Regions from separate parts of the Homo sapiens genome. Here region 1 is linked to region 2. Evidence: promoter capture Hi-C in human tissues and cell types (Jung and others, 2019). All regions are on one chromosome and are shown on one strand. Each heading gives the region's core, a stretch centred on a gene start or on the middle of the fragment in contact. The rest is flanking DNA. Distances are from core to core; before and after follow the strand shown.

Evidence for each region. Contacts are between HindIII fragments. The study calls those that stand out against the background at their distance.
Region 1: a fragment that was not itself captured here is called in contact with the fragment with the promoter of HAUS1 in region 2 in 1 of the 25 tissues and cell types used here (heart right ventricle).

What each region holds. Positions count from the first base shown.
Region 1 is chr18:46,471,403-46,476,980 of GRCh38, reverse strand. It overlaps a transcript of LOXHD1 not described here. Among named protein-coding and RNA genes, the nearest start is that of ARK2C, 140 kb to the right of the region's middle. The HindIII fragment of the contact is 6,562 bases long and covers 1-4,725 here.
Region 2 is chr18:46,102,708-46,107,555 of GRCh38, reverse strand. HAUS1 (HAUS augmin like complex subunit 1) reads right to left here and starts at 3,171. Exons shown (of 9, transcript NM_138443.4): 1 at 3,115-3,171; 2 at 2,188-2,362. The coding sequence starts at 3,144. It also overlaps a transcript of ATP5F1A not described here. RefSeq lists an enhancer at 2,767-2,856 and a silencer at 3,247-3,346. The HindIII fragment of the contact is 15,712 bases long and covers 1-4,848 here.

The DNA of each region.
Region 1 (5,578 bases), core at 195-2,694, 370 kb before region 2:
GCAAGTGGAGAAAAACCTCAGGAAGAAGTGTTTTGCCGGGGGATTTATGAGCCTGTGAAAAGTAGATAATTCTTTCCATCACTTTACAGAGAACGCATTGGCAAGTGCCTGCTGGTTATCCCAGCCTGTGCTAACACAGTCAGGACTGGACACAAAGGTGATAGGGATGGCACCTGCAACAGCCTGGTCACTGGCACTCTAAGGCCGGGAGAGAAAGCAGGGTCATTGAGGTTATTTGGTGATTATCACCTGTGGCTCTCTGTGGGCAAGGTTTGGACTGAGAGCTGAGAGGGGCTTGGGAACAAAGTGAAGACCTGGTCTTTACCCTCAAGGGGAATGTGACCTTGATGGAGAGGCAGCAGGAGAACTGTACATTTGAGTACCCACACAGATTCACACATGCACACACACTCTCCCTGATCGGCAGTCACAAAGTCACAGCAAGACTTCGCAGAGCTCAGCACCTAACTTCTGATTTTCCTGTAGAGAAAAGGACAGCAACAAGGTGGGTCGGGCTGGAAAATATCCCTACAGGAGGGCACCCCAGGACCAGTGTTTCTGCCACTTTGCTGTCCCTGCACCCTCTGTCCCAGAAAGGTCTAAACTCGCAGTGAGGCTTCAGGACCCTGAGGCAAGTTCAGGCCCCTCTCAGAGATCTCTCAGAGAGAGGTTAAATGCACAGGCTCTGGGGGCAACCAGCCTGGGTTTAAATCCCCGTTCTGCCTCTTTGCAACTGTGAGAACTTGGGCACATTATTTTCTCTCTCTGGGCCTCAGTTTCCTTATCTGTAACACAGGGGGAATGATCACAATGCCCACCTTGTAGGTTATGATGAGGACTAAATGAGTTCATGTGTATGTAGTTTAAATTCAGTGCCTACACCAGATAGTGAGTATATCCACCATGCTGAACACGCAGGACTTGGGGGATGGGGAGGGGAAGATGGCATCATTAAACAGCTTTGTTTCCATCTCCTTCTGTGGAACTGGTTCTTCCCCTGTCCCTAGATGAAAATTTAGACAAGCCTCACAACTCCTGTGGACTCCAGTAGGTAATAAAAAGTCCAACAAACACTTTAAGTCATGAAATCCATCTCCATTCTATAATTTAAATGTCCAGCCCCAAAGTAAAGATTAAAACATCAAACTTAAAATTAAGCTTCCTGCCATCTCCTGGCTCAGTCCCGTCACAGGTGGGCCCACAGTGAGGGAGGGGTGTGAGTGTGTGTGCAGTGAGTGTATTATGTAGTGTGCAGGTATAAGGTATAGTGTGTGTTTGAATGTGTGGGTGTACACATTAGTATATATGTGGTGTGTGCCTGTATGTGAATCACTGGGCATGTGTGTGTACATGAGTGTGGGTGTGTGTAGGGTGAATGTATGCATGTGAAGATGTGTGAGAGCATGTGTGTGCGCACACATCAGTGTGTGTGCAGGTGTGTGTGCGTGCATGCGAATATGTGTGCATGTGTGTACACAAGTGTGGGTGTGGTGTGTGTGCATGCAAGTGTATCTGGGTGTGTGAAGGCATGTGTGTGTGAACACGAGTGCAGTGTGTGCATGCATGTGAATCTGTGTGCCTGTGTGTGTATACAAGTGTGTGATTGTGCTGTGCATGCATGTGAATCTGTGTGTGTGTACATGAATGTGGGTGTGATGTGTGCATGCATATGTGTGTATGTGAGTCAGCCTCCCCTCTCTTCCCCTGCCTTGCCCTGTCCCTCCTCCTCCTGCCTTTTGGTGACCCAGGGTTTCAGACTCCTGCGGGAGGAAGAGAGGTGAAGGCAGCAGGCAGCTTCCTGTCTGAGGGCTGCTATTGTGGCTAGTGTCTTTGTTTCCAGACCTGGCAGGTGTTTAGACTTTCATGAGCACTTGTGTGGGTTCACCCTCCACACTGTCCTCTTGTTTAGGATCTGAGACACTCCACAAGAGGCCCTCGGGCACCCTTCTCTCTGACACACTCCAGCCGTTCAGGCCACTCACCTCTCTGTGACCGGGGCCAGCCCATCTCATCCCAGCCATGTCTCCAGAGTGGGCAGGCAGCTTGTCTGCCGTGTATGGTCACACCCCATCTCACATAGCCCTGTTGAAGCCCCAGTCGCTTGCCTCAGATTCAAGGGCAGCCAGGAGGCAGGGCGCACGCTCAGCCCCACAGCAGGCCTCTCAGGATGTCCTGCCCTCGAATCCACTGCCTCCTCTCAGCCTCCCCATTCCCTGTCAGGACCTGGAGATGAGTGTGCAGCCCAGAGTCCAAACTGGTTCTCTGCCCTGTCCTTCTGGCAAGAGATACACAGGGCTCTCACTGCAGAGTGTGGCATCTGTGGGTGACTCGGCCACTGCTGGTACAGGAGGAACCCGTTACCATCCTGTTGCTGGTGTGTCCTGTGAATTTTGGCTTACCATCGATGGGGTAGTGCTGGCCTGGCTCAACAACATACCCCAGGACCTTAGAGAGCTTTCCGGCCATCCTTTACCTGCCCTGCTGGCTCGGCTTTCCTCAGAGGACTTGGGATCTGAGGAAACTATTGCTTCGAGAGCTCCATTAAAACTCATTAATACCTTTGGTCCATTCCGGGGCACTTTCTTACCCACAGGCCTCCCCACCCCCTGCCCCCTACCTGGTTCTCCAAGTCCCTGGACCTGGGCCATCTCCATCTGGGCAAGTCGCCCACAGCTCTGTGCCCAGCAGGGTGGCCCCCAGCAATGTCACACACACTGTCCTCTCTGCTGTCCTCTGCCAGGGCTGATCTGTGCCTGAAGTCTCCTTGCCACCCATCCATTCCTCCACCCTACCAGGCACTGTGCTTCACATTCTTTTTTTATTATTATGATTTGTTTTGTTTTTTGAGATGATGTCTCACTCTGTCACCCAGGCTGGAGTGCAGTGGCACGATCTCGGCTCACTGCAACCTCCACTTGCTGGATTCAAGTGATTCTCATGTGTCAGCCTCCCAAACAGCTAGGATTACAGGCACATGCAACCAGGCCCAGCTAATTTTTGTATTTTTAGTTGAGATGAGGTTTCACCATGTTGGCCAGCCTGGTCTTGAATTCCTGACCTCAGGTGATCCACCCACCTCGGCCTCCCAAAGTCCCCACTCCCGGCCCACATTCTTTTTTTTTAATTGATGCATAATAATTATACACATCTGTGGGGTACATATGGTATTTTGATACATGTATACAATCTGTAATGATTAAATCAGGGTAATTGGCATATCCATCACCTCGAATGTTTATCATTTCCTTGTATTGGGAACATTTCAAATCTGCTCTTCCAACTAATTTGAAATATACAATAAATTATTGTTAACTAGAGTCACCCTACTGTGCTGTAAAACTCTAGAACATATTCCTCCTATCTAACTGCATGTTTATACCCATGAACCGGCCTCTCTGTATTCCTCCCAACCCCATTCCCAGCTTCTGATAACTATCATTCTACTCTCTACCTCCATGAGAACAACTTTCTTATCTCCCACTTCTGAGTGAGATCATGACCTGCTGCTCTGCTGCTGAAGGGCAATGGCAGCAGTCCAGGGCAGGTGGCCCTCAGGTTCTGGGGAGCACACACTTCAGGTCCCTTTGTCCCCAGGGGAGACTCCTTGGCATGCTGCATCACCCATCCCTCAAGGTATAGGATACTACGTGGGCTAGAGTGCTGGGGACTTGGTCACACTCCTGGGTCCAGCCATTGTTGCAATGCTGCAGCCCCCTGGGTAGATGTGGGGGTTGTGGGTGGGTCTCCAGGGATGTGGAGATGCAGGGGTTTTTGGGCCCTGGGCAGGATATAGTCTGGTGGTGGCTGGGTTCTTAAGATGGTGCTGTGCTGCAGCTACTTTGATCTCAGGGGGTGTGTGGACTCGGCATGAACACGATCTCTGGAGAAATGCAGTCGCATGGGCTCCAGGCAGCTCTCCATACTTGTCTCAGGGCCCATGAGGGCTGAAGGACTCTCCCATGATGAGGACTGCAGGAGTCTGCAGTGTAATGTGGACCACTGGGGATCTCTTGCTTACCTTTTCCCCTCCTGGCTCTGAGCCAATCCCTGCCTTCTCCTTCCATGCTTTAGAAGTTCCCTGTCACTTCCCTGCTGAATTCTAGTGTTCTCTCTTGGAAGCTCTATTTGATGTTTGGTTATCTACTCGCTGTTTTGGTTGTTCTTGGTGGAGGAGGCAAGTTCTGGGCCCCTCTAATCAGGCTCCTGGAAGCCCCTTTTCTGTGCATCACATTCTTTACATCTCAACTCAAGGCCTCCAATCACTCCAGGAAACATTTCCATTACCCCTCCCCCAAGACAGAGCTAGAAGCCCACCCACATCTATGAGAAGTATGTTGGAATTGTGTGTCTCCTCATGTGTCTTCCTAACTGGAGTGTGAGTCCTTAAGAAGAAAAGCTAGGTCTCACTCATCTCTGTAACCCCAGCACTTAGCACAGGCCCCAGGGCATAGTGTGGGTACTAAGTGCATGTGTGGTGAATGGATGGATAGATAGATGAATGGATGGGTAGGTGGGTGGATGGGGGGATGGGTGGATAGATGGGTGGGTGGGTGGATGGATGGATGGATGGGTGGGTGGATGGGTGAAAGGGTAGATAGATGGGTGTGTGGATGAATGGATGAATGGATGGTTGGATGGGTGGGTGGATGGATGGATGGATGGGTGGGTGGATGGGTGAAAGGGTAGATAGATGGGTGTGTGGATGAATGGATGAATGGATGGTTGGATGGGTGGATGGATGGATATATGAGTAGGTGGGTGGTTGGATGGGTGGATGGATAGATGGATGGGTGGATGGATGGATAGACGGGTGAATGGGTGGGTGGATGGGTGGATGGATAGATGAATGGGTGGGTGGGTGGATGGATAAATGGGTGGATGGGTAGATAGATGGGTGGGTGGATGGATGGATGGGTAAATGCGTGAATGGGTGGATGGGTGGGTGAATGGGTGGCTGGGTGGCTGGGTGGCTGGGTGGCTGGGTGGCTGGCTGGCTGGCTGGCTGGCTGATTGGCTGACTGGTTGACAGGATGGGTGAGTGGATAAATGGACAGATGGGTGAGAGGGTGGATGAATGAGTGGATGGGTGGATGGATAGATGGAGAGTTGGCGAGTGGATGGATGTGTGTAGGTAAATGAGTCTATTTCATGGCTTAGAATATTTTCTATGATGAGACTCATCCCAGCTCAAGGACTTGAGGAAGCCCAACCTCATCATCTGTGATCAGTATACTCTTCTCAATCCCTCAACTATTGCCCAAGAGCCCCTTAGCCAGTCTGAGTCATTTCTCCAAAGACCTGTTACTTAACCTTCTAGCAGCCCAGCTCTCCTTTTAATGAAATTCCCAAGTTTGGGAACTTCAGATTTCAAACCCTCCTTAGGGCATGTACATTGTGTATTGAGAGACAGTGGCCCTGGGCTCACCCCTGAGGTGGATAGAAGAGAAGATTGTTCAGGGGATCCACTGGACCCTTTGCCTCAGGGAGGTTCTATATATTGTTGGGGCTGAGGAAGGACAACACCAGGAGTCCTGGTCCAGTCTAGAGCCATTCAGTAGAAGTTACCCCTGGTCATTCA
Region 2 (4,848 bases), core at 1,922-4,421:
GAAAAACTTAGAAAAGAGAAGTAATGATGCATAGAGCTATCAGATCTCAATGGTGGCAATGCTCTTCTAGATACCTAGACATAAAAATTGTGTTAAAATTTTGCATACATTAGTTAGAACATTTGTTATTTAATATGTATCACCCTGAAAGGTATTTAAGGACAGACATAAATAATTTTACTTTGAAATCCTTAGATTTTTGGTTACAGTATATGATAGACAAAAAAGAAAGCTCTTATAAAATGAGATTTTTCTGGGCTCCAAGTCCCTTTCTCTGCACTGTATTTTAATAATTACAAAAATAAAATCATTTAAAAATAAGACAATTTTAAAAGCACATATATGGGAGAATATGGCTATAAAGGAGTGGCACAGGGGAGGTTTTTGGGGTGATGGAACTGTTCTGCATCTTGATTGTGTGATTTCAGATTGTGAGAGTGGTTCTACACTCTAAGTGTATTAAAATGGTACACAAAAATAAAAAGTCAATTTTACTGTATGTTAATTTTTAATTAATTAATTAATTAATTTTTTTTTGTTGTTGAGAGAGTCTCACTCTGTTGCCCAGGCTGGAGTGCAGTGGTGTGATATCTGCTCACTTCAGCCTCCACCTCCCGGGTTCAAGAATTTCTCCCGCCTCAGCCTCCCAAGTAGCTGGGATTACAGGCACATACCACCACACCTGGCTAATTTTTGTATTTTTAGTAGAGACGGGGTTTTACCATCTTGGCCAGGCTTGTCTCAAACTCCTGGTCTCAAGTGATCCGCCCACCTTGGCCTCCCAAAGTGCTGGGATTACAGGCGTGAGCCACTGCACCTGGCCCTGCTGTATATTAACTTTTAAAAGAAAACTGGAAAAAAGCACATATGCAATAGAATCAAATATAAACTGCACTATATTCAAAATATCATATGTAACAAATACCATACATCTGATTAAATATAGGGCAAATGCAGGCCTCACTTCCTCTCTTTGGTGTATTCTCGTATCTAAAAAGATTTTTGTCAATCTTTACTTTTGTGGTTTGTATTATCAAAACAATAGGCATCTTGAATGCACTTTTTCTTTTTTTCTTTTTTTTTTTTTGAGACGGAGTCTTGCTCTGTCGCCCAGGCTGGAGTGCAGTGGTGCGATCTCGGCTCACTGCAAGCTCCGCCTCCTGGGATCACGCCATTCTCCGGCCTCAGCCTTCCGAGCAGCTGGAACTACAGGCGCCCGCCACCACGCCCGGCTAATTTTTGTATTTTTAGTAGAGACGGTGTTTCACCGTGTTAGCCAGGATGGTCTTGATCTCCTGACCTTGTGATCCGCCCGCCTCGGCCTCCCAAAGTGCTGGGATTACAGGCGTAAGCCACCGTGCCCGGCCTTGAATGCACTTTTTCAAACTATATATGCCCAGCAGAAAATTCTAATGCAATCTCCTGATACGTAGTCATAGAGTAATTTCGTCCAAGTCTCACATTTCATGGCCACCACCTCAGGTGTCCTGATAGGTCCGTATGACTAAATCATGGAGACCGGAAACAGAAAAAACAGATAGGTAAGTAAAAAACCACAAGGCATCTTGTGTGTCAGACTAACAAGTTTAGACTCTTTTAAGGCTTACTGTTTTGCTATCAGAGTACCAATAAGATATTTAGTATAATAACATTTATTACTTAGAGAATTACTACTGGCCAGGCAGGGTGGCTCATGCCTCTAATCCTACCACTTTGGGAGGCTGAGGCAGGCGGATCACCTGAAGTCAGGAGTTCGAGACCAGCCTGGCCAATATTGTGAAACCCTGTCTTTACTAAAACACAAAAATTAGCCGGGTGTGGTGGTGCAGGCCTGTAGTCCCAGCTACTTGGGAGGCTGAGGCATGAGAATCACTTGAACCCAGGAGATGGAGGTTGCAGTGAGCTGAGATCACACCACTGCACTCCAGCCTGGGCGACAGAGCAAGATTGTCTAAAATATATACACACACACACACACACACACACACACACACACACACACACATACATATACATATATATAAACATAAAACAATAAAGTTACTACTATAACAGAGTGGAAGAAAATCTGGGAAAAATAAAGGAGCAAAACAAGTAGTCTACAGTAAATTAATCCTGTATACTTTAGTGTTATAAAATTTGGTTACCTCTATTTATTCTCGTTCAAAACTCTGGACTTAATCTCACCTTCTGACTCGTATTCACTTGCTTTCTGCTTCAAGTCCTCTATTACCAGGTAGACATCCCTGTCCCGGACCCTGTTGCGTTCTGAAAGGTGATGTAAAATCTCTGTGGTCCGTGGGTTCACCTCATACTGTGGAATAGGATGATCTCCAAATATTTTTTTTAACCACGCAGCAACCTAACCATTAAAAGAAAGACAAATATTATAAGCCTTGTTTACTGTAATGGCTCGATGAGAATATGACAAAGAAGTGATCAAAAGCAAACTAAATGCTTTCTGTGACTATTTTGGAGTCCTACTTCACAACCTCACTTGTCTTTAGGGAGATACTAGATATCAGGAAATAAAAAGTGAGCAAGTACACAAAGAAACGTACAATACTGAAAATTACCAGAGAACAATCCGTTCTTTTCCAAATCTGCAAAAGCGGTACAGGCTAACAATTTGCCTCGCTTGAAAAACCTTAAAGCTTAATAGACCATAATAATGCGAACGCATTATTAGACCGTGCATGGTCTGAAAAAAGCAATTGTCCCTCGATCACCAGAAGCCCCGCCGCGCCGGGAGGCTCCCAGTGTTGGGATGCAGGGCGCGGAAGCAGTTCAGATGTGGAAGCCGCCGGGCTGAGCAGCGAACCGGAAGGCGGGTTTGGCTTCATAAGTCCCACTCCAGAGTCTGTGGACACGGGCTGCTCAACGCCTCTCCCGGGCCAGATCCAAACAAGGGGAGGCCCGGGCAGGAAGGGAAAGGCCTTCAGGAGAGTCTAAGCACGGGGGGCTTGCAGATAGTGACGGCGGCACTAAAAGACGGATGTGTGGAATAGGGGAGAGAAAAGTAGACGTGGCGCGCACAGGAGACCCGCTGTCGGCGCGGGGGTGTCAAAAACGCGTTTTCCAGGAGGCCAACGATCCCCATTCCCGCCCCATCACCTGCGTTTCTCTCTCCTCCTGCGGCTCCATAGCTGCGGCTCCCGCCACTTTACTAGGAACTCCTAGCGGGAGATGCGCCCCGCTCACTCCCTAGGCCCCGCCCACACGCCGTTGGCACCCGCCCCTCGCCGGGCCCGGGATTTCTGGGAGTTGTGGTTTTACCTGAGACTCCTGGCCGTTGAGCCCCTGTGCAAGGCTGGTCGAAGGCTCTGGCATTGCAAGCCTCGCTTCGTTGCCACTTCCCAGCTCTTCCCGCCTTCCGCGGTATAATCAACACTACGAGAGATAGAGCCGCCTAGAACCAGGTTGTTTTTTCTTTCTTTTATTTTTATTTCTTGTTTGAATCACTTGTCGTTAAAAAAAAGTACTTGAAACGTTTGGTTCTTGCTTAGCAAGATGTTTGTGTTTCTTCCACATTGATTGCATCCACTCAGAATTTATATTCTACCCTGGCAATATGAGCTGAGGCAATCTTAACTTGATCCGTTAGTTCCCCCAACCTAAAAACTAGGGACATTTTTTTTTTTTGAGACAGAGTCTCGCTTTGTCGCCCAGGCTGGAGTGCAGTGGCATGATCTCGGCTCACTGCAACCTCTGCCTCCTGGGTTCAAGCGATTCTTCTGTCTCAGCCTCCCAAGTAGCTGGGACTACGGGCAAGCGCCACCACGCCTGGCTAATTTTTGTGTTTTTAGTAGAGACGGGGTTTCACCATATTGGCCAGGCTGGTCTCGAACTCCTAACCTCATGATCCGCCCACCTCGGCCTCCCAAAGTGCTGGGATTACAGGCGTGAGCCAGCGCGCCCAGCTTTTTTTTTTTTTTTTTTTTTTTTGAGATGGAGTCTCTGTTGTTCAGGCTGGAGGGCAGTGGCACGATCTCGGCTCTCGGCTCTCAGCTCACTGCCACCTCTGCTTCCCGGGTTCAAGCGATTCTCCTGCCTCAGCCTTCCGAGTAGCTGGGATTACAGGTGTGCATCACCACGCCCAGCTAATTTTTTGTATCTTAGTAAAGATGGGATCTCATCAGGTTGGCCAGCTTGGTCTCGAACTCCTGACTTCAGGTGATCCGCCCGCCTTGGCCTCCCAAAGTGCTGGGATTACAGGCACTGCGCCCGACCTTTTCTTTTCTTTTTGAGATGGAGTGTTTCTCTGTCGCTTAGGCTGGAGTGCAGAGTGACATGATCTTGGCTCACTGCGACCTCCAACCCCCGTCCCCAGGCTCAAGCAATTCTCCTGTCTCATCCTCTCTAGTAGCTGGGATTACAGGCTTGTGCTAGCATGCAGGGATAATTTTTTTATTTTTAGTAGAACGGGGGGTTTCACCACGTTGATCAGGCTGGTCTCAAACTCCTGACCTCAAGTGATCTGCCTGCCTCGGCCTCTCAAAGAGCTAGGATTACAGGTGTGAGCCAACACACCCAGCCTAAAATGATTTTCTTTTCAAAGGAAACTTACTAGCAAGCCAAGCTTATTTATTATTTATTTTATTTTATTTTTAGAGACAGGGTCTTGCTCTTTCGTCCAAGCTGGAGTATAGTGGTGATCACAGTTCACTGCAACCTTGAACTCCTGGGCTCAAGCAATCCTCCCGCTTCAGCCTCCTTAGTAGCTGGGACTATAGGCGTGCACCACCACACCCAGCTAACTTTTTGTATTTTTTGTAGAAAGAGGGTCTCACTATGTTGCCCAGGCTGTTTTTGAACTCCTGGCCCCAAGTGATGCTCCCACTTGGGCCT